Linked DNA regions of Homo sapiens: regions 1, 2, 3, 4, 5 and 6 are each linked to region 7. The links are contacts of gene promoters, found by promoter capture Hi-C in blood cells and fetal thymus (Javierre and others, 2016). All regions are on one chromosome and are shown on one strand. Each heading gives the region's core, a stretch centred on a gene start or on the middle of the fragment in contact. The rest is flanking DNA. Distances are from core to core; before and after follow the strand shown. Region 1 overlaps PCMT1 (protein-L-isoaspartate (D-aspartate) O-methyltransferase). Region 2 overlaps NUP43 (nucleoporin 43). Region 3 overlaps TAB2 (TGF-beta activated kinase 1 (MAP3K7) binding protein 2). Region 4 overlaps LATS1 (large tumor suppressor kinase 1). Region 5 has its middle 17 kb from the start of TAB2. Region 6 overlaps TAB2 (TGF-beta activated kinase 1 (MAP3K7) binding protein 2). Region 7 holds the start of PPIL4 (peptidylprolyl isomerase like 4).

What was found. Contacts are between HindIII fragments. The CHiCAGO score rates a contact against its expected background, and 5 or more counts as called.
Region 1: a contact is called between a fragment that was not itself captured here and the fragment with the promoter of PPIL4 in region 7, in 2 of 17 cell types (neutrophils and non-activated CD4 T cells). The highest score is 7.7, in neutrophils.
Region 2: a contact is called between a fragment that was not itself captured here and the fragment with the promoter of PPIL4 in region 7, in 2 of 17 cell types (neutrophils and naive CD4 T cells). The highest score is 7.4, in neutrophils.
Region 3: a contact is called between a fragment that was not itself captured here and the fragment with the promoter of PPIL4 in region 7, in 2 of 17 cell types (neutrophils and naive CD4 T cells). The highest score is 7.8, in neutrophils.
Region 4: a fragment that was not itself captured here is called in contact with the fragment with the promoter of PPIL4 in region 7 in 3 of 17 cell types (naive CD4 T cells, non-activated CD4 T cells and total CD4 T cells); the score reaches 8.3 in naive CD4 T cells.
Region 5: a fragment that was not itself captured here is called in contact with the fragment with the promoter of PPIL4 in region 7 in 1 of 17 cell types (neutrophils); the score reaches 5.1 in neutrophils.
Region 6: a fragment that was not itself captured here is called in contact with the fragment with the promoter of PPIL4 in region 7 in 2 of 17 cell types (naive CD4 T cells and non-activated CD4 T cells); the score reaches 8.4 in naive CD4 T cells.

The regions. Positions count from the first base shown.
Region 1 is chr6:149,777,986-149,781,682 of GRCh38, reverse strand. The region is part of intron 3 of PCMT1 (protein-L-isoaspartate (D-aspartate) O-methyltransferase); the gene reads right to left. Among named protein-coding and RNA genes, the nearest start is that of PCMT1, 30 kb to the right of the region's middle. The HindIII fragment of the contact is 4,222 bases long and covers 1-3,529 here.
Region 2 is chr6:149,731,016-149,735,260 of GRCh38, reverse strand. NUP43 (nucleoporin 43) reads left to right here. Exons shown (of 8, transcript NM_198887.3): 7 at 3,526-3,648. Among named protein-coding and RNA genes, the nearest start is that of NUP43, 13 kb to the left of the region's middle. The HindIII fragment of the contact is 2,011 bases long and covers 349-2,359 here.
Region 3 is chr6:149,324,910-149,329,117 of GRCh38, reverse strand. The region is part of intron 1 of TAB2 (TGF-beta activated kinase 1 (MAP3K7) binding protein 2); the gene reads right to left. Among named protein-coding and RNA genes, the nearest start is that of TAB2, 9.3 kb to the right of the region's middle. The HindIII fragment of the contact is 9,509 bases long and covers 1-4,208 here.
Region 4 is chr6:149,695,041-149,698,752 of GRCh38, reverse strand. It overlaps LATS1 (large tumor suppressor kinase 1), which reads left to right. Exons shown (of 8, transcript NM_004690.4): 3 at 3,532-3,679. Among named protein-coding and RNA genes, the nearest start is that of LATS1, 21 kb to the left of the region's middle. The HindIII fragment of the contact is 9,773 bases long and covers 1-3,712 here.
Region 5 is chr6:149,299,183-149,303,155 of GRCh38, reverse strand. It overlaps a transcript of TAB2 not described here. Among named protein-coding and RNA genes, the nearest start is that of TAB2, 17 kb to the left of the region's middle. The HindIII fragment of the contact is 2,859 bases long and covers 258-3,116 here.
Region 6 is chr6:149,342,627-149,346,623 of GRCh38, reverse strand. The region is part of intron 1 of TAB2 (TGF-beta activated kinase 1 (MAP3K7) binding protein 2); the gene reads right to left. Among named protein-coding and RNA genes, the nearest start is that of TAB2, 27 kb to the right of the region's middle. The HindIII fragment of the contact is 2,379 bases long and covers 1,385-3,763 here.
Region 7 is chr6:149,544,404-149,548,303 of GRCh38, reverse strand. It overlaps PPIL4 (peptidylprolyl isomerase like 4), which reads left to right and starts at 2,261. Exons shown (of 13, transcript NM_139126.4): 1 at 2,261-2,368. The coding sequence starts at 2,299. RefSeq lists enhancers at 692-1,368, 2,072-2,371. The HindIII fragment of the contact is 2,652 bases long and covers 1,373-3,900 here.

The sequences.
Region 1 (3,697 bases), core at 169-2,668, 230 kb before region 7:
AATAACCCAATTAAGAAATGGTCAAGAGGCCAGTTATGGTGGCTCGTGCTTGTAATCCCAGCACTTTGAGAGGCACAGGCAGGAGGATTGCTTGAGCTCAGGAGTTTGAGACCAGCCTGGGCGACATAGCAAGACCCTGTCTTTAAAAAAAATTTTTTGGCCGGGCGCCGTGGCTCACGCCTGTAATCCCAACACTTTGGGAGGCTGAGGTGGGCGGATCACGAGGTCAGGAGTTCAAGACCAGCCTGGCCAACACGGTGAAACCTTGTCTCTACTAAAAATACAAAAATTAGCCAGGTGTGGTGGTGCATGCCTATAATCCTAGCTACTCAGGAGGCTGAGGCAGGAGAATTGCTTGAACCTGGGAGGCGGAGGTTGCAGTGAGCTGAGATGGCACCACTGCACTCCAGCCCGGGTGACAGAGCGAGACTCTGTCTCAGAAAAAAAAAAAAAGTTTTAATTATCTAAAAAAAAAAAACAAAAAAAAAAAAACAAGAAAGGGGTAAGAGACTGAATAAATGTTTCTCCAAAGAAGATACAGAAATGGCCAAAACGCACATGAAAAGACGCTCAACATCATTCATCATTAGGGAAATGCAAATCAAAACCACAATGAGACACCACTTCATAGTCACTAGGATGGATAAAATTCTTTTAAAAAAAGAAAATAACAAATGTTAACAAGGAAGCAGAGAAACTGGAACCCTCATACATTGCTAGTGGGACTGTAAAATGGTGCAGCTGCTTTGAAAAACGGTTTGGCCATTCCACAAAATGTTAAACATAGAGTTTTCATATATGATCTGGTAATTCCACTCCTAGGTAAATACTCGAGAGAAATGAAAACACACAAAAATGTGTACACAAATGTTCACTGCAGCATTATTTAGAATAGCCAAACACTGGAAACAATCCAAATGTCCCTCAACAGTTAATAGATAAATGTTGTATATCCATACAATCGGATATTATTCAGTCATAAAAAGGACAGAAGTACTGATTCACACTACAACAGGGATCAATCTTGAAAACATTATGCTAAATTTAAAAAGTCAGTCATAAAAGGCAACATATTATATGATTCTATTTATATGAAATGTCTAGAATAGGCAAATCTATAGAAACAAATAATAGATTAGTAGTTGCCAGGACCTGAGCAGAGCAGGGGTTGGGATCTGACTGCTAATGGGTATAAGGAAGGTTTCTTTCTGCAGTGATGAAAACCTCATATTAGAGAGTGCTGATGTTTGTGTAACTCTGAATAAACTAAAAACTGCAGAATTCTACACTTTAAAGGGATGAATTCTACAGTATAAGAATTATACCTTTTTTTTTTTTTTCTGAGACAGGGTCTTGATCTGTCACTCAGGCAGGGGTGTAGTGGTGTTATCATGACTCACTGCAGCCTCCATCTCCCAGGCTCAAGCAATCCTTCCACCTCAGTCTGCAGAATAGCTGGGACCACAGGCACGTACTATCACGCCCAGCTAAATGTTTTTTATTTTTTGTAGAGATGGGATCTCACCATGTTGCCCAGGCTGGTCTCAAACTCCTGGGCTCAAGTGATCCTCTGGCCTCGGCCTCCCAAAGTGCTGGAATTACAGGCTCAAGGTACTGTACCTAGCCAAGAATTGTATCTTAATAAAGCTGTTTTGTATTGTTGTTTTAAAATGCATCTTTTGCCATGAAGTAACTGCTATGCTTTGTTCAGCAATGAACTGGACACCCAGACCAAACTTCAGGGGAAAGAAAAAAATCACAAAGTATTTCCCTTAATACCTGAAAGCATACCACTCCAGTCAATTTCCCAACCATGCTAGATACTGGTTCTCCAAAATGACTTTTAGCATTCATACTTCTTTTTTTTTTTTGAGTCAGAGTTTTGATCTTTTGCCCAGGCTGGAGTGAAGTGGTGCGATCTTGGCTCACTGCAACCTGCACCCTCCCCAGGTCCAAGTGATTCTCTTGTCTCAGGCTCCTGAGTAGCTGGGATTATAGGCTCCTGCCACCACACGTGGCTAATTTTTGTATTTTTAGTAGAGACGGGATATTGCCATGTTGGCCAGGCTGGTCTCGAACTCCTGACCTCAGGTGACCCACCTGCCTCGGCCTCCCAAAGTGCTAGGGTTACAGGCATGAGCCACCCCGCCCAGTCACATTCATGCTTCTATATAAATCTTTCATTTAGGTAGTGTTGTGGGACAAATCAGAGACGGGAGAGACTGAGCACAGTTCAGGAGAGTGTCTAATTATTAAGGTGATCACTGGCGCAGTCGGACTAGGGTCCAGAAAGTCTGATCCCTGAACAAAGGGATCAATCACCTTTTAAGCAGTTTGTGGCAGGAGTTAGGGAGTTACGTGCTGCAGGAAGGGTACTTGCAGAAGCGAGATCAAAGGCAGTTAATTACTCTTTTACATTTGTTACACCATATGTTTTACATCCTTGGGAATACATGCTTTTGTAGCAATTGCTTATCAACTTTGTGACTTTACAGCCGAGCTAGGGAGGGAAGCAAGAACTCGCTGTGCCTCAAGGAATGTAAAACGATGGAACACAGATAAGCCTCTCTGCGCATAGAGGAGGGATAAGCAGTTAATATTCTCTCTCAACCCGGGCCCCGCACCAGAGTGGGGGGGTGGGGTGGGGCTATATTACGTTCTACCTTCAAGAAAAAGAATAAATTTTTCTACCATTATACTTATAAAATTCATTAATTCCCCCTTCAGTAGTAGTTCAAACTGTTTGCAGATTATCTTAAGACTATAACTTTTCTTTTTAATCACTTATTGAATAGGTAATATACAAAAAAGTCATTCCTAATCTATGGTTTAAAGAAAAAAGAAAGCCCGGCCCAGTGGCTCACACCTGTAATGCTAACACTTTGGGAGGCTGAGGTGGGAGGATCGCTTGAGCTCCAGGGTTCAGAACTAGCTTGGGCAACACAGTGAGTCCTCATCTCTACAGAAAATGTTTTTAAAAAGTAAAGGGTGGTGGTATGTGCCTATAGTCCCAGCTACTCAGGAGGCTAAGGTGGGAGGATCTTTTAAGCTCAGCAGGTCTCGGCTGCAGTGGGCCATCATCATGCTTCTGTACTCCAGCCTGGGCAACAAAGCAACACCCTGTCTTAAAAAAAACAAAAACTAAAAAATTAAGGGCTAGACGCAGTGGCTCAGGCCTGTAATCCCAGCACTTTGGGAGGCCAAGGAGGGTGGATCGCTTGAGGTCAGGAGTTTGAGACCAGCCTGGCCAACACGGTGAAATCCCATCTCTACTAAAAATACAAAAATTAGCCGGGTGTGGTGGTGCACACTTGTAATCCTAGCTACTCAGGAGGCTGAAGCAGGAGAACTGCTTGAACCTGGGAGGCAAAAGTTTCACTAAGCTGAGACTGTGCCACTGCACTCCAGCCTGGGCGACAGAGAGAGACTCCATCTCAAAAATAATAATAATAAAAAATTAAAATGTTAAAAAAAATTAAGCAAAAGGAATAAAGAAATTGATAACACGCCAGACACAGTGGCTCAAGCTTGTAATCCCAGCACTTTGGGAGGCCGAGTCAGGCAGATCACTTGAGGCCAGGAGTTCAAGACCAGCCTGGCCAACGTGACGAAACCCTGTCTCTACTAAAAATACAAAAATTAGCCAGGCTTGGTGGTGTATATCTGTAATCCCAGCTATCTGAGAGGCTGAGGCAGG
Region 2 (4,245 bases), core at 105-2,604, 190 kb before region 7:
TTAGGCAACATAACCTCTTTAAAAAGTTAATAATACTAGTTTAATCCAGGTGAGTGGCATGCACCAGCTTCTCAGGAGGCCGAGGCAGGAGGATTGCTTGAGTCCAGGAATTCAAGGCTGTAGTGCATTATGATTGCACCTATGCACTCCAGCCTGGACAATATAGTGAGACCCCACTCCCTGAAAAGTGATAAAAATCATACCATTTTATATGCCATAGTGAAGTGTGCAAGAATGCCCTTTTCCCATGCAAATGCAGGCTGTCATATTTGTTAATAAATGTTGTGCTCCTCAATTTATTGTTGCATCACATCATTTTTTTTAACATGAACAATAGATTTATAAGCTTTTTTTTTTCTTTTGATTCTGGTGGAGATGATTTAGCCGGACAGAAATTTTTCATTTTCTCACTCTGTCTTTGATATCATGCCAGAATGGATTATCCTTTTTTTTTTTTTTTTTTGAGACAGAGTCTTGTTCTGTCGCCCAGGCTGGAGTGCAGTGGCACAATCGCGGTTCACTGAAACCTCTGCCTCCTGGGTTCAAGCCATTCTTCTGCCTCAGCCTCCCTAGTAGCTGGGACTAAAGGCATTTGCCACCATGCCTAGCTAATTTTTGTATTTTTAGTAGGAATGGGGTTTCACCATGTTGGCCAGGCTGGTCTCAAACTCCTGACCTCAGGTTATCTGCCTGCCTTGGCATCCCAAAGTGCTGGGATTACAGGTGTGAGCCACTGCGCCCGGCCCTATATATTTTTTTAAAAATGGGGTCTCTCTCACCCAGGTTGGAATGCAGTGGCATGATCACAGCCCACTGCAGCCTCAGCCTTGCCTCCCTGGCTCAATCAGTCCTCCCACCTCAGCCTCCCGAGTAGCTGAGGCTACAGGCACGCACCCCTACTACACCCGGCTAATTTTTTATTTTTTGTAGAGACAGGGTCTCAATATGTTGCCCAGGCTGGAGTGCAGTGGCATGGTACCTCACTTAAGCCTCAACCTCCTGGGGTCAAGTGATCCTCTTGCCTTGCCCTTCTGAGTAGCTGGGACTACAGGTATATGCCACTACACCTAGCTAATTTTTTTTATTATTAGATTTCTATAGAAATTATGATTCCATAAAAGATTTTGAGGAAATGATGGCCGGGGGCGGTGGCTTATGCTTGTAATCCCAGCACTTTGGGAGGCCGAGGCAGGTGGATCACCTGAGGTCAGGAGTTCGAGACCAGCCTGACCAACATGGAGAAAGCCCGTCGCTACTAAAAATACAAAATTAGCCGGGCGTGGTGGCACATGCCTGTAATCCCAGCTACTAGGGAGGCAGAGGCAGGACAGTCACTTGAACCTGGGAGGCAGAGGTTGTGGTGAGCCAAGATCGCACCATTGCACTCCAGCCTGGGCAACAAGAGTGAAACTCCGTCTCAAAAAAAAAACAAAACAAAACAGATTTTGAGGAAATGAGGAAGACTGGTATCTTTCAGAATTGAAAGTGATTTTGGAATATATAGAATTTCTTTGGGGCTGGGCACGGTAGTTCATGCCTGTAATTTTAGCACTTTGGGAGTCCAAGGCAAACAGATCTCTTGAGCCCAGTTGTTTGAGACCAGCCTGGGCAACATGGAGAAACCCCATGTCTGTTAAAAATACAAAAGTTAGCCAGGTATGGTGATACATACCTGTAGTCCTAGCTACTCAGGAGGCTGAGATAGGCGGATTGCTTAAGCCTTGGAGGTCAAGGCTGCAGTGAGCCATGACCATGCCATTCTGCACTCCAGCCTGGGCGCCAGAGCAAGACCCTGTTTCAAAAAGAGAGAGAGAATTTCTTTGAGTTGAATTATGTAGAAGTTTGTCACTGACCTATGTTCCTAAAGTATGAAGCATACATATGTGGGCTAAGAAATAGTTTTTCTTGATAAATAATCAACAAATAAAAAATAAAAAGCCCTCCATCTGAGACTGGATCCAAATTCTTGGAACATTTCCAAATTTTGGTTTGGTAGAAGTCAGTTGCTATTTCTGTGATAAAGACCAGAAGTATTCAGAATCTTGGCATTAACCAATATTGGATATTGCCTCTTAGAAATTCATTTTTATATTTCATTAGGATCTTTCTCAGTTTTTCCAATAATATAATCTTCATATATTAATGACACAGGAATTGAAAAATAAGACAACTTACCAATTTAAAAAAAAACTTTTCCGTAAAAGACAGTCATTCCTAGCTGGGCACACACCTATAATTCCAGCACTTTTGGGAGGCTGAGGCAGGAGGATTGCTTGACGCCAGGAGTAGAAGACCAAGGTAGACAACATAGCAAAACCCTGTCTCTATTTAAAAAAATAAAAATAAAATAAAATAAGCTTTTTCATAAAGTAATAGGGTTAAATGTTTTAGCAATGATTTTCTTTTCTTTTTTTTGAGACGTAGTTTTGCTCTTTTTGCCCAGGCTGGAGTGCAGTGATGCAATCTCAGCTCACTGCAACCTTGCCTCCCGGGTTCAAGCAATTCTCCTACCTCACCCTCCCAAGTAGCTGGGATTACAGGCACCTGCCACCACGCCGGGCTAATTTTTTGTATTTTTGGTAGAGATGGGGTTTCACCATGTTGGTTAGCTGGTCTTGAACTCCAGATCTCAGGTGATCCACTCACCTCGGCCTCCCAAAGTGGTAGGATTACAGGCATGAGCCACTGCGCCTGGACATTTTTTTTTTTCCTTGAGACAGAGTCTCACTCTTGTTGCCCAGACTGGAGTGCAATGGTGTGATGTTGGCTCATTGCAACCTCTGCCTCCCGGGTTCAAGCGATTCTCCTGCCTCAGCCTCCTGAGTAGCTGGGATTATAGGCACCCACCACCATGCCTGGCTAATTTTTAGTATTTTTAGTAGAGACGGAGTTTCACCACGTTGGCCAGGCTGGTCTTGAACTCCTGACCTCAAGTGATCCACCCACCTTGGCCTCCCAAAGTGTTAGGATTACAAGCATGAGCCACTGTGCCTGGCTACTATTTTCATTTATTTCCTTGCCCAGTACGCAAATTTAGTTGGCTTCTTTTTCCTTTCTTTTCTTTTTTTTTTTTTTTTCTCAGACAGTGTCTCACTTTGTCGCCCAGGCTGGAGTGCAGTGGTGCGAGCTCGGCTCACTGCAACCTCCGCCTCCCAGGTTCAAGTGATTTTCCTGTCTCAGCCTCCTAAGTAGCTGGGACTACAAGCACGCGCCACCACGCCTGGCTAACTTTTGTATTTTTAGTAGAGATGGTGTTTCACCATGTTGCCCAGGCTGGTCCTGACCTCAGGTGATCCACCCGCCTTAGCCTCCTAAAGTGTTCTTTTTCCTTTCTATGTGTTATAGCCATTGGAAAGTTACATTATGTCTTTTCTTTAATTCTGAAGCCTTTAATTTTTAGGACAGACTTGAGGCTCGAAGGTATGTGATGGAGGATAATGGAAGATGATGCCTAGAGATGGGGGTTTAATGTTGTTTGTTCAGCGAATCTGCACAGGAATGAGCTTATTGATTCTTGTCTCTTAGTGTGGGAAGTTCACTTTCACCCATCCAACCCAGAACATCTTTTTACCTGCTCTGAAGATGGATCCCTCTGGCACTGGGATGCTTCCACAGATGTACCTGAAAAGTCGTCACTCTTTCACCAAGGTAAAACTTTTTAATGAATACTGTTATGTGTACTTTTTTTTTTTTTTTTTAAGACAGAGTCTCACTCTATCACCCAGGCTGGAATGCAGTGGCACGATCTCAGCTCACTGCAACCTCCGCCTCCTGGGTTCAAGCGATTCTCGTGCCTCAGCCTCCCGAGTAGCCAGGACTACTAGTCATGCACCACCGTGCCCGGCTAATTTTTTTGTATTTTTAGTGGAGATGGGGTTTCACCATGTTGGCCAGGCTGGTCTCGAACTCCTGACCTCAAATGATCCGCCTGCCTCAGCCTCCCAAAGTGCTGAGATTACAGGAGTGAGCCACCACACCTGGCCTTTTTTTTGAGACAGAGTCTTACTCAGTCACCCAGAATGGAGTGTAGTGGTGCAGTCTCAGCTCACTGCAACCTCTGCCTCTCAGGTTCAAGCTTTTCTTGTGCCTTAGCTTCCCTAGTAGCTGGGATTACAGGTGTGTGCCACCACAACTGGCTAATTTTTTTGTATTTTTAGTAGAGATGGGGTTTTGCTATGTTGGCCAGGCTGGTCTCAAACTCCTGGCCTCAAGTGATCTGACCACCTCAGCCTCCCCAAAGTGCTG
Region 3 (4,208 bases), core at 1,027-3,526, 220 kb after region 7:
GGAGTATACAGGTATCTCGATGCTCTGTCTTTTTTCTAATTTTCCACCTCACTTCCAGCTAACCCACCACTGGTACCTAATGCACTGTAGAACTACACACAGTTACTGTGTACATGTGGACTTTCCTACCTCCATCTTTCATGCATGGTGTTTCTCTCTATCTAAAAAGACCTATCTGCAGCCTGTAACTCTCTTCCTTGCCTATCTGATATACACTCAGATTAAGTGTCACCTTTCCTAGGAAGATTTCCCTGTCATATCCTTTCATCCCTTACTGAATAGGAGATACTGCCTAATCCTTATCCATAGGAGACACTACCTCCTATGGATTCCTAAAGTATTTTATGTTTAACCCCGTCACAGCATTTGTCACAGTATATCACATGTGTTTGTATATATGTCTCTTAAGGACAAGAACTGTATCTTACATATCTGTCCACCCCTTTGACCTAGCAAAGTACAGGCACACAGCAGGAACTCAAAACTATTGGATAAGTAAGGTAGTTTGAATAATAAAGAATGTAGAGGCCGGGTGCGGTGGCTCGTGCCTGTAATCCCAGCACTTTGGTAGGTCAAGGCGGGCCAATCACAAGGTCAGGAGATTGAGACCATCCTGGCTAACACGGTGAAACCCTGTCTCTACTAAACACACAAAAAATTAGCCAGGCGTGGTGGCACGCACCAACAGTCCCAGCTACTTGGGAGGCTGAGGCAGGAGAATTGCTTGAACCTGGGAGGTGGAGGTTGCACTGAGCTGAGACTGCACCACTGCACTCCAGCCTGAGGGACAGAGCAGACTCCCTCTCAAACAAAACAAACAGAATGTAGAGATGAGACACAATAGAAGAATGAGTAAGGCAAGATTTCTTGGGTTAGCCAGCTATTCTGCACAAGCATGTCATAGAAGACATATGAAATACGCTCTATGGAGTTTCTGTTCTTTCGATCATGTGATATTCTATAAAAGTTGATATACTGATAGATAGCTTGGTTTGGTTAAGATGACCACTTCAATCTTCTACCTAATTACTTCAACTAGGTAATGAACTAACTTCAATTAGGTAATGAACTAATTACCTTCAACAAGAGCACTTACTTCTTGTTCCACTTGCAAAATTACAGCAATGGCTCTGTCATCCTTTAAATGTATGGCAATGTTCATGAGGGGAAAAATCTCATGAAGAGAATGAGTATGTCTCATGCAGGCCAAACAATTACCTTAGCTAGACAATCTCAAAGGGCATTCAACACGTGTCAATGCACTTTTATATGCAAAAAAGCAGAATCGCCATATGTGGAAGTGGGAATTTTCTTCTGAAATCCCCATTTCCATGTGCTTATTTTTCCATTTCCTATAAAATCATCCTAAGAGTTGGCAAGCAGTACTTTAGTCAAGTACAATTCAGGTACATGCTAATCATGGGGTAAACAGTAAGTCACTCTCAATGCAAATTATAAAATATCTGTATTTCTAGCAACTTTTATTTGACACGGATCCCTTGGATGGTTCCTTGAGCACATTTTCTCACAATTCTAGTAACTACTTAACTGTGACACCTACATACATCTGCAACATACAGCTGCTTAACTTCTGAACAGCAGACGCTCATGTTTATCAGGTCACTAATTGCCTTTTAAAAATTAACCAAGTTGCCAGGCTCAGTGGCATGCCATACGTAGTCCTAGCTACTTGGGAAGCTGAGGCAAGAGGATGGCTTGGGCCTAGAAATCGAGACCAGCCTAGGCAACATAACGAAACCCCCATTTCTAAACAAATAAATAATAAATCAATAAAATTAACCAGGCAACTATGACATAATTTGTGCTCAGTAATTAAATGGAACATTTAATCTGTCTTAAATTTTTAAAAAACGACCATCTTGCCTATATTTTATAATGATGACAACCCTAATAGAAACCTACAATCAGGAAATGCTAGTATAAAAGAAAAGTGTAAAAGACAAAATAGTCCATAGGATATCAAGAATGTGGAAGCAAATATCTGTATAATAGGCTTTGTACCACAGATCTGAATATTAATATTTAAAGGCCAGTTTCTCCCACTTAAATTTTTATGCAATTATTAGCTTTGCTGAACATAAGATAAACTCTTGCAAACTACAAAAAAGCAAAATTAATTTGCTGACCTAATTATTACTGATATTAAGTGACCTATCCAAAAGGATGTGAAAATGTTAGGTTTTCTAAATAATGGCATTTGATCAAAACAAAAATCAAATTTCTGTGCATAATACTTCACTCTACATGTTGACTTTTCCAACAGCAAAAGCTAAAAACCGCTTAAAAAAGCAAGGCTGAGGATGGGTGGATCACCTGAGGTCAGGAGTTCGAGACCAGCCTGGCCAACATGGTGAAACCCTGTCTTTACTAAAAATACAAAAATTAGCCAGGCAGGGTGGTGGGCGCCTGTAATCCCAGCTACTCAGGACGCTGAGGCAGGAGAATTGCTTGAACCCAGGAGGCAAAGGTTGCAGTGAGCTGAGATTGCAACATTGCACTCTAGCCTGGACAAAAGAGCAAGACCCCGTCTCAAAAAAAAAAAAATAATAACAAAAACACAAGGCTGAAAAGACCAACATGTACCTTATAATTCTTTCTGCCATGATAACATGTCATTTATCCAATGATTAATGGTTCAATCTCCTATTTGTGCTTCTGGTTTTATTTTACAGATTGCATAAAAACTGCACACGTGTAAGATTAAAGCATATTTATTACCTCTAGGCTAAGAGATTTCATGTATATACACTACAGAATGTGCTAAGCCTATGAACTTAATAAAATGCAATGACTTTTTTAAACTGTCTTTTTTTTTTTTTTTTTTTGAGATGGGGTCTTGCTTTGTCACCCAGGCTAAAAATTTTTGTCTTAATCTACTGAGTAAACCAGTGTAACTGTTGTAGACTATTTTGCTGTAATAATTAGTATTGAATGCTATTTGTATAACCAATATTTTAACATAATAATACAATTTGTTTACTCTTCTTGGTACTATAGCAATACAGATAACTTATTAACAAAATATAAAACCATTGCTATAGCTGCTGTTAAAACAGGCTGGGTGTGGTAGCTCACACCTATAATCCCAACACTTAGGTGGGAGGCCAAGGCAAGATGATTCCTTGAACCTAGCTGCTCAAGACCAGCCTAAGCAAAATAGGAAGAACCCTTCTCTACAAAAAATAAAAAGTAAGCTGAGCGTTGTGGTACGCATCTGTAATCCCAGCTACTTGGAAGGCTGAGGTGGGAGGATCACTTGAGCCTGGGAGGTCAAGACTTCAGTGAGCTGTGGTTGTGCCACTGCATTCCAGCCTGGGCAACATAGCGAGACACTGTCTTAAAACATAAACATAACAGAAAAGTATAAAGATCATTTTACACAGATAAAGTGGCACAAGTTTTGTAGTATTATATTAAACCTCATATTTGAGGTGTTTTCAAAATCTTATCCATGCCAATTTTCTAATGCTTTTCCTAAAGAAGAACTATATTATAGATTTGTGGACTAATTTCAAATTGAAAATGCAGCTTTTCCCACAGGAACAGGCAAGAAAAATACAAAGAATTAACAATCCGTATGTTTATTTTGTAGTTAAAAAAATAATGATGATGTTTTGTTTGTTTCATCTTGGTCTAAGGAGTTACAGTAAATTAAAAAGTACAGAAATTCTTTTTTCATTCTATTTGTTGAGGAAAAATGAAGTGGACAGATACCTTGAAGAAAAAACCTAACGAAGCAAAATTCCAAATGTAAAATTACTTCCAATTACTTAAGCTACATATCCTAATGTAACTAGAACAAGAATTCACCTGTTCTATGTAAGGTAGGTATTACTATATCCATTTTTCTGAAGAAAACTCCTTGGCTCAGAGTGTGTGAATGATGTCTAAAATCACATAGCTATAGTCAGCAACAGAACTCAGGTTTGAACTTGGGCTCATCTGGTTTTAAAGCCCAGAACTTTTATTATACTTCATTGACTCCCAACACGGTAAAATTAAGATATTTAGTTAAAGAGGTGGGGGCTGAGAAGCTGAAAAATTAACAAAGAGATCAACTAAAAACCAAAAGCAGTATTTTCCTAGCCTGGGCAACAAAGGGAGATCCTGTCTCTATAAAAAATTTTTAGAAATCAGCTGGATGTAGTTGCGCACACTTGTAGTCCCAGCTATTCAGGAGGCTGAGG
Region 4 (3,712 bases), core at 942-3,441, 150 kb before region 7:
CCGACTCTACAAAATATATGAAAAAAAAAACATTAGCTGGGCCTAGTGGCACATGCTTGTAGTCCCAGCTACTTGGGTGGCTGAGGTAGGAGAATCATCACTTGAACCTGGGCGGCGGAGGTTGCAGTGGGCCGAGATCACACCATTGTACTCCAGCCTGGGCGACAGAGTGAGACTCTGCCTCAAAAAAAAAAAAAAAAGACTTCTGGCTGGGTGTGATGGTTCACTCTTGTAATTCCAGTGCTCTGGGATGCCAAAGCAGGAGGATTGCTTGAGGCCAGGAGTTCAAGTCCAGCCTGGGCAACATAGTGAGACCCTGTCTCTACAAAAAAAAGTTAAAAATCAGCCAGGTGTGGTGGCATGTTCTTGTAGTCCCCAACCACTTAGGAGGGTGAGGTGGGAGGATCACTCAAACCCAGGAGATTGGGTCGCAATGAGTTGTGGTTGCACCACTGCACTCCAGCCTGGGCAACAGAGCAAGACCCTGTCTCTAATGGGAAAAAAAAAAAAAAAGACTCCCATTCCAAAGTTACTGATTTGAGCGTTCTTTTTCACACTGGCACTAACACCTCCACTTAATGAATGCTTGGTTGATGTTTTTACAGCTATAAGAAATATTGTAAAACATAGCAATAAATATTAAAATATAAAGGTTAGCATAGTAATCACCAGAATCACAAGGCTGAAATTCTAGTGCATTTAACAAGAATATGGGCCGGGTGTGGTGGCTCACACCGGTAATGCCAGCACTTCAGGAGGCCAAGGTGGGTAGATCACTTGAGGTCAGGAGTTCGAGACCAACCTGGCCAACAAGGCAAAACCTTTTATATATTTACTAAAAAATATAAATTAGCCAGGCGTGTTTTTGGGCGCCTGTAAATGCCAGCTTCTCTGGAGGCTGAGGCAGGAGAACTGCTTGAACCCGGGAGGTGGAGATTGTCGTGAGCTGAGATCACGCCACTGCACTCCAACCCCAGGCGACAGCGAGTCTCCATCTCAAAAACAAAAAAAAGAAAAGAAAAATGATTCCCACAATATTGGAAAAGGGTAGTGGGTGCTAATTTTCTTACCAATGGAGATGTTACTGCTGTGTAATAATAGCATAAATACATATAGAGTTCACTTGACTTAACCAGTTTTAAAATTAAACACTCCCTGATGAATTTTAATGGGTGATTTCTATTATTTTACATTTACACATATTTGGTTTTAACAAAAATCTAAATAATAATGCTTTTAGCAAGATAGTGATTCAGTTAATTACGATTAGCTCAACGTCTTAAAGATTTCAGAGCCTAGGACTCTTATGAATATCTTAAATTTTACTTCTTGGTGGCAACATGCTCTAGCACAGGTGTCATATCTGTTGCCTAGGAAACGGGGTCGAGGAAGGACCAGTACCTAGATAAGGCAGGCATGGCAAAATTTTTATGGCAACCCTTGCTGCTTCCAACAAAATCAGTAACTTTTTCTAAGAAAGGGAGAAATGACCTTAGGTAGGCAATAAGTTCTTACCACATCCTTTCTTTGGTTGGTCTCACATTCTTCTCTTATCATTTCATATAGGAGGATCATCTGTCAGTAGCCTGTTCACCCATTAGTCTTACTAAGCCATTTCTCATTTAAAAATGTCGTTTGAAATACTGAATCCTCTAGGACAAGTAAGTAGTTGCCTCCCTCTTGAAAAATGCATGTCAACATACTTTCTGCATGATAGTGAGTGATTTATGTTTATATAAAACATAAAGTACAAGGAGTGGAAGAGAGCAGCCAACATTTTAGCTCCAGGCACTGTGCTTGGTAGTTTACATGTTTTCTTATTTAATCCTCACATCAACCCTATGAGCCTATTACAGGCAAAGACACTGAGCCTCTGAAATGTGAAATAATTTGCCAGGTGTCACTCTACTTTACAGAGCTGCTGGAACTCAAACTCACATCTGTCTGATTCCAAATCCTCTGTTTTTTTCATCGTACTATATAGCCTCCTAAAGTCTTTATCACATAATCATATATAGTCTAAGTATCTTCTTTTGTCTTATATTTGTATTCCTGTAATATAGTTCTCTGAAAACGTAATCTCTAAGAGGATAAGAGCCAGAACTACTATGCACAATGGCAATGTGCTTAATAAAATACCAAGATACTCATATAAAAAAGTAGTTCTTTTTTTTTTTTTTTTTTTTTTTTTTTAAGACGGAGTTTTACTCTTGTTGCCCAGGCTGGAGTGTAGTGACGTGATCTGTACTCACTGCAACCTCCACCTCCTGGGTTCTCCTGCCTCAGCCTCCCAAACAGCTGGGATTATAGACACGTACCACTACACCCAGACAATTTTATATTTTTAGTAGAGATGGGGTTTTACCATGTTGGTCAGGCTGGTCTGGAGCTCCTGACCTCAGGTGATCTATCCGCCTCGGCCTCCCAGAGTGCTGGGATTACAGGTGTGAGCCACCGCACTCAGCCCAAAAGAGTTGTTTCTGATATTTTGATTGCTACCTTTTTAACAATCTGATAGTCTCTGATTGTTTATATAAGAATTAGGAAGCTGGGAGCAGTGGCTCACACCTGTAATCCCAGCACTTTGGGAGGCCGAGGTGGGTGGATCACCTGAGGTCAGGAGTTTGAGACCAGCCTGGCCAACATGGTAAAATGCTGTCTCTACTAAAAGTATAAAAAATAAGCCAGGCCTGGTAGAGCGTGCCTGTAATCCCAGCTACTTGGGAGGCTGAGGCAGGAGAATCGCTTGAGCCCAGGAGGTAGAAGTTGCTAGTGAGCCAAGATCGCACCATTGCACTCCAACTTGAGCAACAAGAGCGAAACTCCATCTCAGAAAAAAAAAAGTAAAAAGAATTAGAAGTAATCAGAATCATGTTGCTATGATTGTACCCAGAGAAGTTGTTAATCCTAATTCAAGCCAACAATGGTGTGTTGAAAAAAATAAAAATTTAAAAATACTTTAAAAAAAGACGTTAATCCTAGGAGGAAATAGAAATATGTTACATAAAGATGAAAATGCTAAAGAAACATTTGGAAGATTTGAGGGTTTTGTTTTCTTTCTTTTTTTTTTTTTTTTCCAAGACAGCATCTCGCTCTGTTGCCCAGGCTGGAATACAGTGGTCATCTCAGCTTGCTGCAACATCCACCTCCCAGGTTCAAACAATTCTCATGTCTCAGCCTCCTGAGTAGCTGGAATTACAAGCGTGCGCCAGCACACCCAGCTAATTTTTGTGTTTTTTTGCAGAGACTGGGTTTTTTACCATGTTGGTCAGGCTGGTCTTGAACTCCTGGTCTTAAGTGATCTGACCACCTCGGCCTCCCAAAGTGGCTTGAGCCACTGCGCCCTGCCTGTTTTAGTTGAGATTTTGTGCGGGGTTTTTAGTAGCTACAAACAGAACATTAATATCATGGTTTGGGGCTGTGTTCTTCATAATTATGGATTTCTCTAGTGGAACTCATAGTGTTCTTTCCCTTGTATTATTGTAAGATTTAAATTTTGTTTCTTTTTTTTTAAACTTCAATTCATATCAGGATATGGTTATACAAGCTCTTCAGAAAACTAACAACAGAAGTATAGAAGCAGCAATTGAATTCATTAGTAAAATGAGTTACCAAGATCCTCGACGAGAGCAGATGGCTGCAGCAGCTGCCAGACCTATTAATGCCAGCATGAAACCAGGTGATTAATCAAATATTTTATTTTCTCATCTCT
Region 5 (3,973 bases), core at 438-2,937, 240 kb after region 7:
GCCCTTAGCTTGTTTTTCTGTAAGTAGACAGTCTCTCATCAACCCTAGATAATCCTGTCTGGGGTTGATGGGAGATAGTGACAGATCATAAGGCATTAGATTCTCATAAGGAGCACACAACCTAGATCCCCTGCATGCGCAGTTCACAATAGGGTTCGTGCTCCTATAAGAATTTAATGCTACCACTGACCTGACAGGAGGCAGAGCTCAGGAGGTAATAGGAGCAATGGAGAATGGCTGTAAATACAGATGAAGCTTCACTGGCTCACCTGCTGCTCACTTCCTGCTGTGTGGCCCAGTTCCTAACAGCCTCCAGACCAGTACTGGCCCGTGGCCTGGGAGTTGGGGACCCTGCTGATAAGATATGAATCTGTGAAAGAAAGTGGGGAGAGGCTGGGAGATAGATAGATAGATATGACCCCAAGTGAAGCAAAGAAAGATGGGAAGGTGAGTGGTAATATCCTAGACTGCCATGTAGTGCAGAGAAAGTTCAGCAAGACCTTGAGGAGTACTTTAGTAGAAGAGCTGGGAGACGTGGACTCCTCCATCATCAGAAGAGTCTACAATTCCCATGAAGGAGACTGCAATAGTAACTCTATCAGGTTCAATCACTGTGGCCTTGGCATGAATGCAGAGACAGATTTTCGGAGAACAGCAGCAGAGGCCTTTGGGCAATTATACTCCCTGTAGTTGGAAGTGCACTACCAATTAACTACCTTTTATTAGGGCCATCTTTCCAAGCCATAAAATATTCATATATAGGGTTTCAATAAATATTTATGCTTCAAAAATATACATAGATATTTTAGAAAACCTGGAAAATGAACTGAAAGAAGATAAAATTTATAAGTAAGTCTAAGTCTAGAATTACCCACTGTTAACATTTCGATATATGCCTTTTCAGGTTAAAGTGCATATATGTAATGTTATATGCTTATATATTTGTATAAATACAAAATATAAATACATATATATGTTCATAATTTTCTAGCATTTGGGAAAATGACAGTGTCTGCTCTTTAGTCTATCTTGGACATATTTTTGAATACCTATATGAAACAGAACAGGCTGTAAGTTTGTAGAAGCTGATTGAGAGATTTTTAACATATACAATGATAAGACATTGTATCTGCCGAAGTGATTTTCTGCTTGGATTTTTGGAGATAGGCTTAATTTTATAATAACTCTTCACCGAAGTTATTTTACAAATTGTATATATAGTTTTGTATTAAATGATATAAGAATTTAATGAGCAAACGTGCCATAATCTTTCAAAGTTTACTTCTATTTTCCAAAGTAGTAGCTTAGTGACTAACTCAAGAGCTTTATAAAAGTGATTTATTTTGAAATTATAAAAATAAGATTTTAAAGGTTGTAACATGTTCAGTAAATAGTGTTTGTTGAAAAGTAGTGGTTAAATACATGGAGCTCTTAGTCACAATGCACACGACTAAAGAAGAAATGTTATGTGGAAACATTCAAATGAAGATACAGTTCTTGTAGTATGAAACAACTTTTACATAAATGAAACAAACAAAAAGATTTGAAAATGTGAACTGGTATTCATTGAGTTAGCACCTACAAGGATGGGTTCATATTTCTCCCCACTATGCTTTCTTGATGAATGTATATGTGTAATGTACAGAAATGACCATTTCATTCTCTTATTAACTTCCTGCTGGCCTTCACTTTAAGAAATTTTTATAGTTGAAAATGTAATCTATATATGAAGGCTTCAACAACCTCAATACATAGGTAAGATGATAATTCCCTTAATACTCCAGTTTATAATGGCCCCAAGCACCCACTGCTTAACTGGCAGGCTTTCCAACTTTCTTCTAGCATTGTTGTAGTTCCCCTGTTACTGTCTGCTGGTGGACAGAGAATTCAAATGTCCCTTGAGGCTAAATTTGGTAACTGCTGGCTTCTCATTGTGCCTTCTGGTTTTGGTTGTCCTAAGTGCAAGGGATTTGTCCCTGGTAATGTTCAGTGGTTGCTGACCACCCTGCCAAGAGCTTCTACTCTCTTACAGAGATGTGGCTCCAGCCATCCCAATGTGGACCTCTGCCTGTTAGCCTAGTTCATGATAATTCCAAGTGTGAGAAGGAAGATGGCCTCTTGTCATCATCCAAATTCTACCAGGTTTCTCCCACAGCAAGACTCCCCAAGCTCTGAATGGCATAGCACCTGATATAGCAATTTCAATTTGCATATAGGTTCATTTTTGCCAAGTTGAATCCAATACGCTTGAGTAGCTGAGTCAGGATTCTCTCTTTCCAGGAAGCAGGATGCAGAGACTAGGATACTTTAATTCCATGATTTAGGTCTTGAAGCTAAGAACTAATGGTATGGACTCCTTTCACCCCCCCAGTGCTCTCCTGGCCTTCTGCCAACTCTTCCCTGCCATTGCCTCCTTAGGATGAATTTCCTCAGTCTGACATTGGGTCTTTCTTTTAACCACAGTGGAAGGTGTGTGTTGGGGAAGAGGGTGAAGGTGGGGTAAAAGATGGTTCCTAACCAATGACTGACAAAAGTTTATGCTGCATAACACTAAGCTATGCTCAAGGATTAACACTGAATCAGGAAAAGGCTGAAGGAAAGAGAATGATCCAGAAGAGTAATTTTCAGTCCAATATTGAATTTTAAAATACCTCACAGAATCGTGTAATTTTACAACTGGAAGGGATTTTAAAGACTTTTTCATCCAACTCCCTTATTTTATCTGTGCAGAAACTGATGTGACTTGCTCAAGGTCAGAGTTATTGACAGAACCAGCTCTATAACCAAAATTATCTGACCCTGTCAACCTCGCACCCACAATTCAGCAAACACATCTTATTGATCAAAACCACTCTGTTGTATTCTTACTTTTATTAGAATCAAACATACAAACAAGAGCTTTAAAATTTTTTAAAATCAGAATAACTGTTAACAATGTATAGATATTTTAGGATGGATCCCTTACCTGGATTCACCAGGATTACAGGGGTCTATTTTTAGTTTTCCATCTTCCTAGTCCTATACAAGATACTGTTCCTATATCGTTAATACATAGAGACAAAAATTCTTCAAAAATAGGAAGAAAAAAGGTATATTTCTACCTTTAGCCAGAAGCTTTTATCTAGCAACATTTAAAAAAAAATTTCTTTTTTAGAGACAGGTTCTAGTTCTGTTGCCCAGAGTGCAGTGGCACAATCATAGCTCGTTGTAACCTCAAATTCCTGGGCTCAAGTGATCCTCCTGCTTCAACCTCCAGAGTAGCTGGGGCTACAGGTACGAACCGCCATGCCGGCTAAGTTAAAAAAAAAAAAAAATTGTAGAACTGTGCTATGTTGCCCAGGCCAGTCTCGAACTCCTAGTCTCAAGTGATTCTCCTGCCCCCGCCTCCCAGTGTTGGGATTACAGGTGTGAGCCCTGCCCCTGGTGTAGTAAAAACTTTATCTAGTTTATCTAGCTTTATTTAGCTTCATTTTAATCTAATAAATACTTGAGTACAGGATAGAATAGGTTTGCCCTAATTTATACCACATTATCAGGTGTATTCACTTTCTTTCTGATGTGAATTATTATTGTTATTATTTTTTGACACAGAGTCTTTCTCTGTCACTCAGGCTGGAGTGCAGTAGAGCGATCTCAGCTCACTGCAGCCTCCCCCTCCTGGGTTCAAGTGATTCTCTTGCCTCAGCGTCCTGAGTAGCTGGGACTACAGGCCTGCACCACCACGCCTGGCTAATTTTTGTGTTTTTAGTAGAGACTGAGTTTCACCATGTTGGCCAGGCTGGTTTTGATCTCCCAGCCTCAAGTGATCTGCCTGCCTCAGCCTCCCAAAGTGCTGGGATTACGGGCGTGAGCCATTGCACCCGGCCTCTGATGTGAATTATAACGGCTGCTGATAAGACCAGTGGCCAATAGACACTAATGTAATTACTATAGTCTCATGACCAGAATTAAACATTTCAAGCCAATGCTATAC
Region 6 (3,997 bases), core at 1,325-3,824, 200 kb after region 7:
AAATTAGCTGGGCGTGGTGGCAGGCACCTGTAATCCCAGCTATTTGGGAGGGTGAGGCAGGAGAATTGCTTGAACTCGGGAGGCGGAGGTTGCAGTAAGCCGAGATCACACCATTGCACTCCAGCCTGGGCAACAAGAGCGAAACTCTGTCTCAAAAAAAAAAAAAAAAAAAAAAGTTTCACCAACTGATCTGATCCCCATGCAGTTTCAATGCCTTACTTGGTCCCATGATTCTTCCTGTTCATCTCATATAACTCTGCTCATTTTCTTTCTAATGTCATAGCCCTCAGCTGACTTTTTCCCATAGTGGACTCCTGGCCAGCTGCTAAGGGAGAGGGGTGTGTGTGTGTGCATGCGTGCATGCGTGGGCGTGTGCACAATAGCACTAGGAGTATGATAAGTTCACAAGTTAGACAAAGTGTACATGGATATTTGCTACTACTAATAAAGTATCAGAGTTCTAGCTTTCTATCCATCTATCCATCCACCCATCCACCCCTTCCTCCCTCTCTTCATCTATCCAGCTATATGAATTAAAGCATCTAATCTAGAAAAAACACACGTGTTTAAAGTGGTGTAAACAAGAATGGTCATCCCAGTGTGTGCTTCTAAAAACAACCTCAATGGCCATCTAGGAGGAATAAATAAATACATTATTGCATAGCCACACTAAGGAACACCATGCAGCTTTTTGTTGTTGTTGTTTAGTGGAATATGATGTCCAAATAATTATATGGACAAATATATCCAAATAATTATATGGACCTATAAGACCTTATTGACTGAAAAAAAATCAAGATGCAGATTCCATGTATAACACCTTTTGTGTAAAAATAAAGACACACAAAAGATGCATTATATTAAAAAGCTTTTAAAAAATGTTTTGTCCTTTCCTATGATGCTGAAAATAGATGTATTTTAAACAGATATTTTTATATGATTGTATAGGAAAGATTCTGAAAGTATACACACACTAATTATTCTGGAGAGGGGGCTGAGTAGAAGGACACATGGATGGAAGGTATTCCAAGGAGGTTTAGTCATCTGTCCCAATTTTTATAATAACACATATTCATGCATTACTATAAAGTTATTCCTTATATATTTCTCTATAATATTACTTGTATTCTGATATGTAGATAGAGTAAGAATAGAACAGAATGAGTTATTTGAAGGTACCTGTATTAGCCAACCACAGGTACCTTCAAATAACTCAAAGCCTGTGTTGTCTATGCTGAAACTGTTATGGATGTGCAGTTTACAGCTGCAGCACTGACCAATTATCAGGATGCTTGATAGATGAGATTTACAGTTACTTTCTAACTTAAATGTTACTTATGAATTTATATATGTAGGTCCATCCATGATTAACCATGTCTAAGCTTAGTGTCATAATTTGTAATCCTTGGTTAAAACAAAGAAGCCAGGTGACTTTTTTTTTTACCTAAAGGCTAACTCAAGGTGAACTATTTATTATGCAAGCACTCAAACTGACTAAGTATTACACATCTACCAATGAGATGGTTTAATTAATTAAAGGAAAGAGGTAAGGGGTGGTAGAAAAAGAAGTAGGCTTATTGTTACTATTAAATATAAGAGTCTCCCAATAAACACAATACCTTTATGGAAAGTTATTGTACTATCATATACAAAGGTGGACAAGACACGCTGTTTTCTCTGAGCCTAGAGTATAATCACTTTGGTTCTACACTTACTATGAGCCAAGTCCTGTGCTAAATGCCTTAAACATGTATTATTTCAGTTACTTTTTACAATATTCCAGTAGTGAGGATTAAGTGAGAAACTGCAGGTAAAACTCTTTGCACAATGCCTGACAGAGTAAATGTCCCTTATTAGGCATTACTACTGCCTAACCTCTAACTTCATCAATTCAACCCTCACTCTACGGTAGTCAGCTTTTCAAAAGATTCACTGACTTAACACATACCAGTTCTGAGAAATCTTCAACGGATTCCCATTGCCTATTAAAGTCCAAACTCCTTCATCTGACATTCAAAAAAACATGACATAGCTCCATCTCCCATCACACCCCTCCCTATCCAACTATTCTCTATGCACACTGGACTGCTCACAATTTCTATAATATATTAAATACTTTCATCTCCATAACTTAGAAATACTCTTGCTGCTTTCTCTAAAGAATTCTATTTATCCTTCATGGTTCAGCAGAAACATTACCTTCTCCACAAAGCTGATTCTCTCCAGTACTCTTAAGTATGTTGTATGCATCTCTATTACGATACTTTCATATTACTTGTCTGTAAGCTCACTAAAACAAGGTTTATTGATTTCTACATCCCAGCTGTGTCTATTTACATTGAATAATGGAGAAAAATTTCACCATTAATAGCACCACTGAAAATAACTAAGACTTGATATTCATATGTAATTCCTTCTTCAATTTCTACTTCAATTCACCTAACAGTGGTAATGACCCTAACTAGTAGCTCCCTTTCCAGCTCTAATTCAACACTCAGTGACACATAATTCTTTAAACACCAAACAAATAATGTGGCACATAATCAGTGACCTAATGCTGACTAAATTGCCAGACATTAAATTCATTATGCATTAATACTGCAGGAAGGGATGTAAGGAAGGAGTTAAGCACATGCTAGAATATTAGGATTGCCTTTTAAATTCACAATTGGGATACAAAATTCCTCTTCAGTTTTCGGTAATCTCTAACCTAGATAAACTGAACTAAAATCAAAAGACATGTATGATTATCTACCCATTTAGTAAATAAACTCATCTTTCAGGGATTAATTCTGTTTCTACATCTATATATATTGGTAAAAGGAATAAATATCCTTAAAAGCTAATTGATCTTGGCCCTCTAACCATTCATGAGTAGCTTTCTCTTGGTTAAAATCTAAGGCATTAGGAAACCTCAGTTTTTGGTTTTGTTGTTACACTCCAGGATGACTCTGACTATTTGTAACTTCCTTGGCTGGTTTCTTTTGGGTAATCAAGTAAAATATTAGCAAATATTAGTTATACACTTAGTTTAAAAATATAACTAAATTCTTCAGGTAAAGTACTATATAATACATTGCTCGGTTCTATCCAGAAATAATATGTCTAATTTCCAATTACTGAAGAATATATTAACCTTTTTTTTTTTTTTTGAGACGGAGTCTCACTCTGTTGCTCAGGCTGGAGTGCAGTGGTGCAATCTCAGTTCACTGCAACCTCCGACTCCCTCAGTTCAAGTGATTCTCGTGCTTCAGGCTCCCAAGCAGCTGGGACTACAGGTGCACGCCACCAAGCCTGCCTAATTTTTTTGCATTTTTAGTGGAGGCGGGGTTTCGCCATGTATGAATATATCAACTTTTTAGGTAAAGGCATTAGTAGGGTAGAATAGTTGAGGATCTCAGGAAGAGGGAAGTAGTTTCATTAACTGAATTCCCTATACTGCTTGTACTCAATGTAAACCTTTTAAAGAAAGGCAGTTTTGTTGTTGTTGATGTTTGTTTTTCAATTTTTTTTGGTATGTTTATACGGCTTCACTCAATAGCATTTCACATTTATTTTTCTTATGTTTTTGCATTAGTTTGCTACTACTAGCAAACAAGTTAAATTAGAAATATTCAGGCAAAAGGTATGTTAAACTCAATACTAGCTGCATGTTACCTAGATGTTAGTGTTACTATACTTTAAAGCAAGATGACTATAAGTTTTGAAAGTCAAGTTTTAGTTACTATAGATTTAATAATAAGGCAGTTACACAGGCTAAGCTTGACTGGTGCCATGGACTTTAGCATACCTGGAAATAGAAAAATTCAAATTGTAGCTGTTCTTGGTTGGCCCATTGCCATTTTTGCAGCTTACAAATTGTTAATTAAGTAACTGCAGTGAGCTCATCTCTACGGGATACTTCTTTTCCAGGGCAGGTCCAGGAACTGGGTCTGGAGCCTTGAAAGCAGAAGAGAAACTAGAGTAAACTAGAGGTAGGCAGAACAAGAAATGTGAC
Region 7 (3,900 bases), core at 1,012-3,511:
GATTCCCTTTGTTGGCTTTACTTTTAACCCTTAAACACATATCAGGCATAAATGGAACATGGTATGGGAGCACTTTCTTTTTTTTTTTTTTCCTCGAGACGGAGTCTCGCTCTGTCACCCAGGCTGGAGTGCAGTGGCGCAATCCCGGCTCACTGCAACCTCCACCTTCCGTGTTCAAGCAGTTCTCCTGCCTCAGCCTCCTGGGTAGCTGGGATTACAGGCATGCGCTACCACACCCAGCTAGTTTTTTTTTTTTTTTTTGTATTTTTTATTAGAGACGGGGTTTCACCATGATGGGCCCGGCTGGTCTCAAATTCCTGACCTCAGGTGATCCGCCCACCTCGGCCTCCCAAAGTGCTGGGATTACAGGCATGAGCCACCACGCCCAGCCATGAATATTGTGGTGGCAGTCGCTGTGGCGGGCACCTGTAGCCCCAGCTACTGGGGAGGCTGAGGCAGGAGAATCGCTTGAACCCAGGAGGCGGAGGTTGTAGTGACCTGAAATCGCACCACTGCACTCAAGCCTGGGCAACAGATCGAGACTCCGTCTCAAAAAAAAAAAAAAAAACCCAAACCGAAAAACCATATTTATTCATTCAACAAACATTTATTTGCACATTGTGTACCAGGCTGTCATACGCATTAGGGATATAGCTTTAAACAAAACAGACAAGATGGAATATCCTGGAACACACATTCTAGTAACAATAAACAAACAAACAAATTCGTAAATAGCATGTTAGATTGTAAAATGTACTCTGGAGAAAAAGCTATATGGAGAAAAAGAAGTGTCTGTGGGGTTAATTTTAATTATGGCAGCCATGGAGGGCCTCACTGACAGGGTGACCGACGCCAAAGCGCCTGAAGGAGGTGAATGGGAGCCATACAAATAACTGGAGGAAGAGGTCCCTCAACCAAGGCAAGTGAAAAGGCCATGGGGCAGGAGTATGTCAGCAGTGTTCAGGGAATAGCAAACTGTCTACTGTGGCTTCAGAGGAATAAGAAGATGGCGTAGGATGGGGTAGGAGAGGATCTTGTAAATCATTATAAAAGCTCTGGCTTTTCCGCCAGGTGCGGTGGCTCAAGCCTGTAATCCCAGCACTTTGGGAGGCGGAGGCGGGCGGATCCACGAGGTCAGGAGGTCGAGACCATCCTGGCTAACACGGTGAAACCCGGTCTCTACTAAAAACACAAAAAATTAGCCGGGCGTGATGGCGGACACCTGTAGCCCCAGCAACTCGGGAGGCGGAGGCAGGAGAATGGGGTGAACCCGGGAGGCGGAGCTTGCAGTGAGCCGAGATCGCGCCACTGCACTCTAGACTGGGCGACAGAGCGAGACTCCGTCTCAAAAAAAAAAAAAAAAAAAAAAGCTTTGGCTTTTCGTCAGATGTGAAGTTATTGGAGATTATGTGTAAAATGTCATAAGAAAGAGTGACAGGCTTGCCCAGAAGAGTGTCTGGGGAATAAACTTGCATGGCAAAATGTTAGTTTTGGCCAGGCGCAGTGGCTCACGCCAGTAATCTCAGCACTTCGGGAGGCCAAGGCGGGAAGAGTTCGAACTCCTTGAGCTCAGGAGTTTGAGACCAGTCTGAGCAACATAGTGAGACCACCTCCCCCGACCGCCATCTCTACAAAAAATAAAAGAACAAAATTAGCCGGGCGTGGTGGCGCGCGCCTGTGGTCACTTGGGAGGCTGAGACAGGAAAATCGCTGGAGCCCGGGAGGTGGAGGTTGCAGTGAGCCGACATCGCGCCACTGCACTCCAGCCTGGGCAACAGAGCGAGACCCTGTCTCAAAACAGAAAACAAAACAAAATGTTAGTTCTTAGAATCGGAAACCCCTAGTAGAGGCCCAAAGTTGTTTTGCGAAAAGGAGACTGACGAGGAAACCCGGAGGAGTCCGCCCAAATAGGTGGAGAGAAGATCCCGCCGCGGGCGCCCCCTGGTGGATAAAAGGGCCGCGCGGAGGGCCGCTCTGCTCTTGAGACGGACACAAACGGGGCACAAAACACTATACTGAGACCGTTCTGAGGGACAGGCTTCCACCAAAATCGCCAAGGGCGGACCAGGATTTTCAAAACGGCCGCGCCGGGGGCGGGACCAACCCGATCCGTAAGTCAGCTGGGCAGCCCGGCGCCCGCACGCCGACCGGAAGGAACTGCTCGGAACCGGGGGCGGCGCCGGCGAGATGACGCAAAAGGGGTCGCGCCGAGGGTGACGCGTGGCGTAGACGACGCCGTCGGCCTGCGCCTGTCACCCCCCTCCTCCCGGGGTTTGTAGCGGAGGAGGAGCGGGCGCCATGGCGGTTCTACTGGAGACCACTTTAGGCGACGTCGTCATCGACTTGTACACCGAAGAACGGCCGCGTGGTGAGGCTTGAGCCCCACTCACCTGTCGCCGGGGCCCCCGAGCTTGTCTCCCTACTTTCCCTTCTCTGCGCAGTCCAGGGCAGAGATTGGCTAGAGCTCGAGCTTCTGGGCTGCTGGTGCCCGCGACTGGGCTATTTTATTAACCGGCCTTGGCTAGAAAAGTTTTTGTGACGGGAATTCGTTTGAGCCTTGGCAGCCCTTCTCCCGTATTTTGTGTTGGCCAGTCCGGTGGACGGTGCTTGCGGTCATTAATTGCCTTTGGGAGTGTGTGTGTGGGGCGTGTGTGTGTGTGATTCGAGCTGCACATACAATACCCATAGCTTTTGTGCCTTTATTGTGTTTACTCGTGAGAGGAACATAGGAACTATTGCTTGGTGTGTAATCGGTTAAATCTTGATGAAGGCAGTTAGGGTGTGCTTGGCGCAGCGAGTGTGGGCATACCGCTTAGGTGGAGGAGGAAGAGGTTGTCTGGAGTGTGGACTGAGCCTTCGAGGCACTGGGCTAAGTCCTGGGCTTGGCTTCTTGCCCCCGAGGGTCTGATTTTTCCACTGGGGGAAGTAGACACAGGAACCCATTTTAGTTTTCTATGTGTTATGGTAGAAGAATGTGTAAGTTGCCACGGAAACCAGAAGAGGGCGGCTTCTTTGGTGGGGGGTGGGAAGAAGCAAAGCTAGCGAATACTATATAGAACACTTGAACTAGTTCTTTCAAAGATGAATGGGAATGAGGGTTTTCTTAGCTTGGACTTTCTTTGTTTGGAATTTTCTGGAAACGGCAAGTAGTTTGGTGTGGCTGGAAGGACTGGTGTGAGTCGTGGAATGGTAGACTCGAGTGTGGTCAGATACGCCTAGGTCAGTCGTGAATAGTCTTGTGTGCCCTACTGATGATCAGAGTCCTTGAAGACTTTAAAAGCAGGATTGAGGCATGGCATACTTGTTTTGAGAAGATAATAGGCAGCGGTGTGGAGAATGTATCAGAGTCAGGAAGAAACTGAGACCAGGAGAGATTAGTTACAAACAGGGTCCTACCCACATGGAATGCAGAGCCTATCAAAGAAGGTGAAATAAGTTGCAATATTGTACAATAACTACCTCCTGCCGTGCTCCGCTTTCCCTCGCACGCAGCTATTCCTCCCTCCTCTCCACCTGGCGAAAACACTACAAACTCTCCCGTACCATTGTTACCATTCTTTTGCTGTTTCTTCTAAACAATATTCTTCTCCACTATTGTCCTTCTGGCAAACTTACTACTTATTATCTAAATCTCAGATCAAGCATCATCTCTTCTTTGAAGCTCTCCCTCCTTTCTAAGCAGAGTTACCTGAGGGTTCCTCTGCTGTGTCTTAGGTCTTTTATAAACCACATGACACATTTTATTTTAACATTTACCTATTATCCTGGTGTTGTTTACAAGCGTGCCCTCGCTCAAGAATGTAAACTCCAATGAGAGCAGGAACTATACCATAATTATCATCTCTATATCCTGAGTACCCAGTACAATGTCTGCTACTTTTAGGGCACACACTAGAGGTT